2 separate regions of the Homo sapiens genome follow, and region 1 is linked to region 2. The links are contacts of gene promoters, found by promoter capture Hi-C in human tissues and cell types (Jung and others, 2019). All regions are on one chromosome and are shown on one strand. The core of a region is centred on a gene start or on the middle of the fragment in contact, and the rest is flanking DNA. Distances in the headings are between cores, read along the strand shown. Region 1 overlaps RCAN2 (regulator of calcineurin 2). Region 2 holds the start of ENPP5 (ectonucleotide pyrophosphatase/phosphodiesterase family member 5).

The links. The method cuts DNA at HindIII sites, captures the fragments that hold promoters and counts their contacts. A contact is called where the count stands out against the background at its distance.
Region 1: a fragment that was not itself captured here is called in contact with the fragment with the promoter of ENPP5 in region 2 in 1 of the 25 tissues and cell types used here (hippocampus).

The regions. Positions count from the first base shown.
Region 1 is chr6:46,427,663-46,430,991 of GRCh38, forward strand. The region is part of intron 2 of RCAN2 (regulator of calcineurin 2); the gene reads right to left. Among named protein-coding and RNA genes, the nearest start is that of RCAN2, 62 kb to the right of the region's middle. The HindIII fragment of the contact is 4,017 bases long and covers 1-3,329 here.
Region 2 is chr6:46,169,558-46,172,593 of GRCh38, forward strand. ENPP5 (ectonucleotide pyrophosphatase/phosphodiesterase family member 5) reads right to left here and starts at 1,423. Exons shown (of 5, transcript NM_001290072.2): 1 at 1,251-1,423; 2 at 496-557. RefSeq lists a silencer at 1,595-1,654. The HindIII fragment of the contact is 11,054 bases long and covers 1-3,036 here.

The DNA.
Region 1 (3,329 bases), core at 278-2,777, 260 kb after region 2:
TAACCCGGATTCTGAGTCACATGACCTCGCATGCAATATAGCTGTATTGACATACAACCATCAGAGGGCTTTGCATTTTCAAAAGAAACGAGAGAAACCAACAGATAGACAATTCAAACTTTCAAGCAATCCAAGCGTAAGTTTATGGCAGACATTGTCTGTTGATTCCACATAAGTGATTTCTTTCTTCTCCCTTGATGAGAGCCTTGATTTACTAAGGACCACGTTTCAGCTACAGGATGAATCTGTTATGGCTAAGCTAGGACCACATTTCAGCTACAGGATGAATCTGTTAGGGCTAAGCTAGGACCACAATTCAGCTACAGGATGAATCTGTGAGGGCTAAGCTAGGACCACAATTCAGCTACAGGGTGAATCTGTGAGGGCTAAGCTAGGACCACAATTCAGCTACAGGATGAATCTGTTAGGGCTAAGCTAGGACCACATTTCAGCTACAGGATGAATCTGTTAGGGCTAAGCTAGGCCTGGTTGTCCTATTCCTCTCAGATAGATGCTTGTTTTTCCAGGCTCTTTTGCATCTAAGGGTACCAGCCAATGAGAGGTAAGTGAAGATTCACTGGGGCTAGGGAGTACTCGTTCTGCCAAATATTTTTACTCCCTGATCAAAGAATATAAGAATGATGCCAAAAAAAAAGTCCCTCACCACAGCAGCGTCACCTTGTAGTATTTATTCCCACTGAAAATCACATTATGTATTTTTTTATGTGTTCATCATTTCTCTCCATGAGATGATATGCACCATGAGTAATGGTATAGTTTATGCATTATTCATGGTACTTTGAACAGTAAACATAGTTGGAACTCAATAAATATCTGCTAAATGAATAAATAAATGATCTGACTGGGATTTTCTTTGGAGCAATGGCTTAGAATTTCCAGAGAAGAATCTCCAGTCTCTGACCTGGAAAGTAATCATCATGCTTTGGATATTCAGGGCCCAGGACAGAGGAGCATGGCTAAATTTTCACTATATCTCTGTCTTTCCAACCATGAAGCTCACCTTCCTGTACCTTCTCTTCCCTGTACCTGATGTCCCAGAACTCTCAGAACTTTTGAGGGCTTGTTTTTTTAATATATTCTCCCTCATGGAGGCAATTTAGCTGAAAGCTCCTTCCACTCTGCTAAATTAGTTGCCATTCCTCCATCTGCTTTCTTCTCAAAATGTGTTAAAATCTCTTGACAGGTGATATCTTCTCTCTATTCTCTTCTACCATGGTTTATACCTTGTTATATTTTTACTTTTAGGAATGAGAGTAAATTCATATGGCCAATGTGTCATATCTAAAACAGGAATGTAAATATGTAGAAGGTAAAAGGTAGATGACCTCAGCCTCAGAGATAATATCAGGTAATCAATTAAGCAAGAGCTTATGATATTAATCACATGTATAATTGTTTTAAAAGATAAACCACAGTGTAAGTAGTAGGGGCAAAAGGGGTGATCCAGGAGTCCTTTACAGAAATGCACCTAAAGTATAGAAACCAGAGTCCTTCACAGAAATGCACCTAAAGCATCCCACTTAATATAGGGGAACACAGTATGCTAGATATAAATGAATAGAATTGTATAAACACTTTTACAGGGTGTACTCTGAACTTGCCACTTTAGAGGCAGCTTTGCACAACAGAGGCATTTTAACTCGAAGCCAAAAGATACGGGTTCCAGTCCCACCTATGATAGATCTATGTGAATATCAGCAAATTACTACAGAACTCTGCATCTTTTACCTTGCACATTTGCTGTAAGGGTCAAATAACTCACAAACTTCTTGGTAGACTGCAGAGTACTCTTCAGTTTTCTTGGTTATTACACTGAAGAAGGAAAATATTATCTTGAGAGTTATCAACGTTTTAATTTCTGAGAGAAATAGGTTCCATATGAAACGTCTCTATCAGTACAAGCAGAATCTGAAGGAATCCCTAAAAGGTATTGTATTCATTTTTTTTCAACAAATTATATGCCAGGCACTGTGCCAGGTGCTAGAGAATGGTCATTAGGGCAGGTACGTTCTTGCCCTTATGGACCCTAGGGTCTAATGTGAAGATGTTAGTTAACAATCACATAAAGAAATGGATCATTCATGCTGAGATAAGCGCTCTGAAGGAAAGAAGCACAGCACTCTAAAAGTGTATCCCAGAGGAACTAACGAGGTCTTGCACTGGCACAGGAGGGATGCGGCTGGCAGTGTATATGGCAGATAAATCAGCACATGCAAAGACCCTGGGAATATGACAACAGTTGTAAACTCAAAGAAGGAGAGAAAGTTAGCATGGCTGGAGACAGAAGACTCAGGAGTGAAGGAAAAGCCTTGAGGTAGGTTGACCTTGAAGGCCAGGCTAAGAATACTGACCTTCATCCTGAAAGGAATGGGAAGCTTTGGGTGGGTTTTACACATACCATATTTGAGCTTTGAAACCAAAAAACTAAAGCACTTCAAGCTTCAAAGTGAAATGCATTGAAGAACAGCAAGAGAGGACCAGTCGCAGACCAAGACAGAGACAACTGCAATAGTCGAGATGAGAGATGCCTGAAGCTTGGAGCAGGGATAAAAGTGAGCTGTCAAATAGGAGAGATATTTAGGACGTAACATCATCAGGATTAGCTACAGAATGATTGGGTGAGGGAGAAGGAGAGCTTCTGAGTGGAAAAACTGGATGTAGGGTGGTTTGGTTCAGGAATACAAGAAATAATGGAAGGAGACCTGGTTAGCAGATGGCTTTCTATATCATGAGACATCAAGAGGAGACATCAGTTACCTACCTCAGAGAGGCTGCTTGGATCAGGGGTAGAATGTTCATAGTTGTTAGTGTACAGGTGGCAATTAAAGGTTTGGATGAGATTGCTTAGGAGGAGAATGAAGAGGGAAATAAGAGGAATATATGAGTGAAAATGCACTCACTTTTATAATTTAATTCAATCCTCCTAGTCCTCCCAATTTTAAGATTTGCCTTCTCATCGGGAATGTGGATTTTCCATAGGTGTGATTTCACTTTTATACATTCTCACTGAGAAATAAAAGATTGGTTTCTTCAAAGTTATGTACAATAGCAAATTGGTTTCTTCAAAGGTATGTACAATAGCAGATTCCCAGCACATGTGTATCAAGAATACAAAATAGGAAACAACAGACAGGCAACTAAGAGAGGCTATTAGCTGTAGGTTCTAAGAGTTATTAAAAATTGAGAGATGAGGAATAAGAAAAAAATGATTTTCCCTGAAACAGCTTTTAAAATACTTTTGCGTAGAGAACCCCAGATGCCATCAATCAGGAAAATGATCTCTGGCAGAGAAGAATATGGTTGATGTA
Region 2 (3,036 bases), core at 173-2,672:
AATTTTTGTATTTTCAGTAGAGACAGGGTTTCGCCATGTTGGCCAGCCTGGTCTCAAAACTGCTGACCTCAGGTGATTCACCCTTCTCGGCTCCCCAAAGTGCTGGGATTACAGGCATGAGCCACCGCAGCCGGCCTGAAGACATTTTTAAACTTCAAAAATATATCCTGTTTCACCTTGCTGTATTATAGGTACAGGTAAATAAAAACTACTTGGCATGCTTGCTTTGCTTTCAGAAATACAAGGTATATGTACATTGTGGGTATTCGCTGAGGGCAATAAATTCTGTTTTGCTGGTTTTAAACTGTGTTTTCACCATACCTAGACATTTCTTAAACTGAAATTGTTTTAGGTATTGGTCTCAAGATGATAGCTCAAATGTCATATTTAAAAACGATTTCTTGGATGGCAATACTCTCTCTGATTCTGGAAGGAACATTAAACACAGTTGCAGCAAGGAATAGCAAATAGGTTACTGCAAATATATTTACTCACCTATCTGGCTATGGATGGTAGTTGCTCTCTCTGTCCTTTCTCCCCCTAATTTTCTCTCCCACCTTTTTAAAACAAGGAAGGCTAGTATCAACCAAATGTAATTTAAGGCTAAAAGCAGAGGAAATAAACTACATGGAACACCTCATTTTCATCTATCTTAGCAAATTAATTCGGCACATGTGTAAGCAGGAGAAAACTGCTTTCTTGGGACCAACAAAAGTAAGCAAAGATTAAGTGTTGTCTAAAGCTTAGGAATGTTTGGCAAGAAGACTCAACATCACATCCATGACACAGAGCAATAAACAGAGGTGGGGGGTGGGGAATGAAAACAATCAGAATTTTTTTTTTTTTCGTGCACAAAATGCTGCACAAAACAGTGGAATCCCTGGATCTGGCTCCACATTTCATTGAGTACTTTCCAGTTCTTTCTCCCCTCCAACCCTTCCTCCACAAACAGACTTGGAGAGCAGGAAGGACGGGGCACCGATTAAACGGAAGAGGGAAAGTGCAGAAGGAGTAGGTTTGTGTAGCTCGGGTAGACGTCAAGGGCGGGGGTGTCCATCTTCTCCACCAGGATTCCATCCTAGCCACCCAGAATGGTCGCGGCGTAGGTTATGTTCCCAATTCCCAGTCATCCCGCCCACCGAGGCCTGGGCTTCTTAGATGTGCAGTGGCAAGGAGGGGACGTTGCTTTAGGGACCCAGAGGAGCAGTGTGGGTTCCCGGGAGGGAAGCCACCCACGCCCCTGGACTCACCCTCGCAGCGATCCGTTCAGTCCGTATTAGTTTGGAGCAACGGGAGGGAGGGTCTGGAGGAGACTCCCTCGGGCGCGCCGCGGGTAACGGCGGGAGGGTGACTGGAGGAACGCCCCCGGAACGCGCAGGAGCTCACCTGCGCTCAACTCTGGAGCGGAGCACCTGACCGCGCCGCTTCCCCGCCCCGCCTCCTGGCTTCTATTGGCTGCTGCAGAGATAGTCACTTCTGCCTGGGTTGCCCCCGAAAGCCAGGCTCCCAGGAGTAGCTGCACGGCCTGTCAATCAGCGGGGGCAGGGGCGGGCGCTGCCTGGGTTTGGAGGGTGGAGGGGGAGGGGACTCCCGGGGGCAGGGACCCATCTGGTAGGGCGAAGGCGTGGGATGGCCAATTGCTTGGTCACACACAAAACCTTCCGGCAACGTGCCTTTTCCAGGGGACCAGCTGTGCTGGAGTCAGTGATGCTGAGAGATTATTGCGTGTTACCCCAATGGTGGGTGTACTCTAACAGTCACTGTTTTTTGTTTAAAAGCGACTTGTATTCTCTGATTTCTTATCCCAGGCTTTTTTCCTTCCCCCGCCCCCCGCCCCCTGCCTTGTCACGAATTGGCGATGGGGCACACCATGGGCTTTGCTCTGAGGAACACCTGCACACCCGAGGATGCCAATGGGACGATGAAGTTTCATTCTTTTTATTAGTGGGTGTTATCTGCTTTACCTCAGAAAGAATTTATTAACCTAGTCAACTCTGCAGCCCCAACGTTTGCAGTCCAGGTTTTTGCAATTGAGGTCCCTGAGGTATATTTGTGGTGTACCTAGCATGGCACCTGAAATTGTGCGAATTAAACCAAGACAGGTTCAGAATTAGGTTAATTTGCACAGGAGAGAGGCTGAACAGCCACCCTCTCTGGTGGTGGCATCCGAGCTCCAGACTCTGTTTCTACCTTTGTTTGCAAAGTAAACATTAAAACTACAAACATCAGGCCTGATTACTCTTTCAGAAAGCCTTCAGTGCTTCTTGTGTGTTAGTGCCCCTATTTTGTCTTTTTCCGTACTGTAGTGGATTATTTTCTCAGTTTTTTTGGGATAATCAATGGCATTTTTAGGCCTGAGGGAGTGTAGGCAGGTACTTAGTTTGCCAGTATGATCCCAACTGTCTTTACCATAAATTATAGCAGTGATATCAAACTACCCTGAAAGAATTTGTCCATCTACACAATCCCAGCTAGAATTCTGACCTAATTAGAATTCTAGTTCTATCTGCAGTAGGCAATAATATCAGGTTGATTGTTACAATGTAAGTTTAACATCTAATTAGCTGGTAAAACTGGGAGCATATCTGCAATGGTGGTTTTGGCTCCTGCCCGGAGCTCGGATCCCTTGTCTGGTGTGCTGGAGCTTTAAAGTGAATAGAGATATCTGTTGATATTTAATTAAGCCATGCAAACATTTTGGTCATAGCTTTTTCTCTGTCTGCTTCTAATAGAGGGACAATCTCAACCCCAAACATTGTTACCTCCTAACTGGGTCATCCCATCCCGAAGGGCATCTGGGCACTCTTCCATGGCCTTTTATTCGTGGTAACTTGAGTTTATGGTTTTCAACACGTGGGATGGGGATTAAGAGGGAGGCTGGTTTCTATGTTTAGTGAGACCCAAACACAATGAAGTTGAACAAGTTGTTCCAATTCCCCAAAGCCCTGTCCTTTGAAATTGCCCAAACTTGGAACAGAGTGGTCCAATCTTGTAAGTCCTTGTCCCCCAGAATAGGTCAACTCTGTGCTCTCCCAA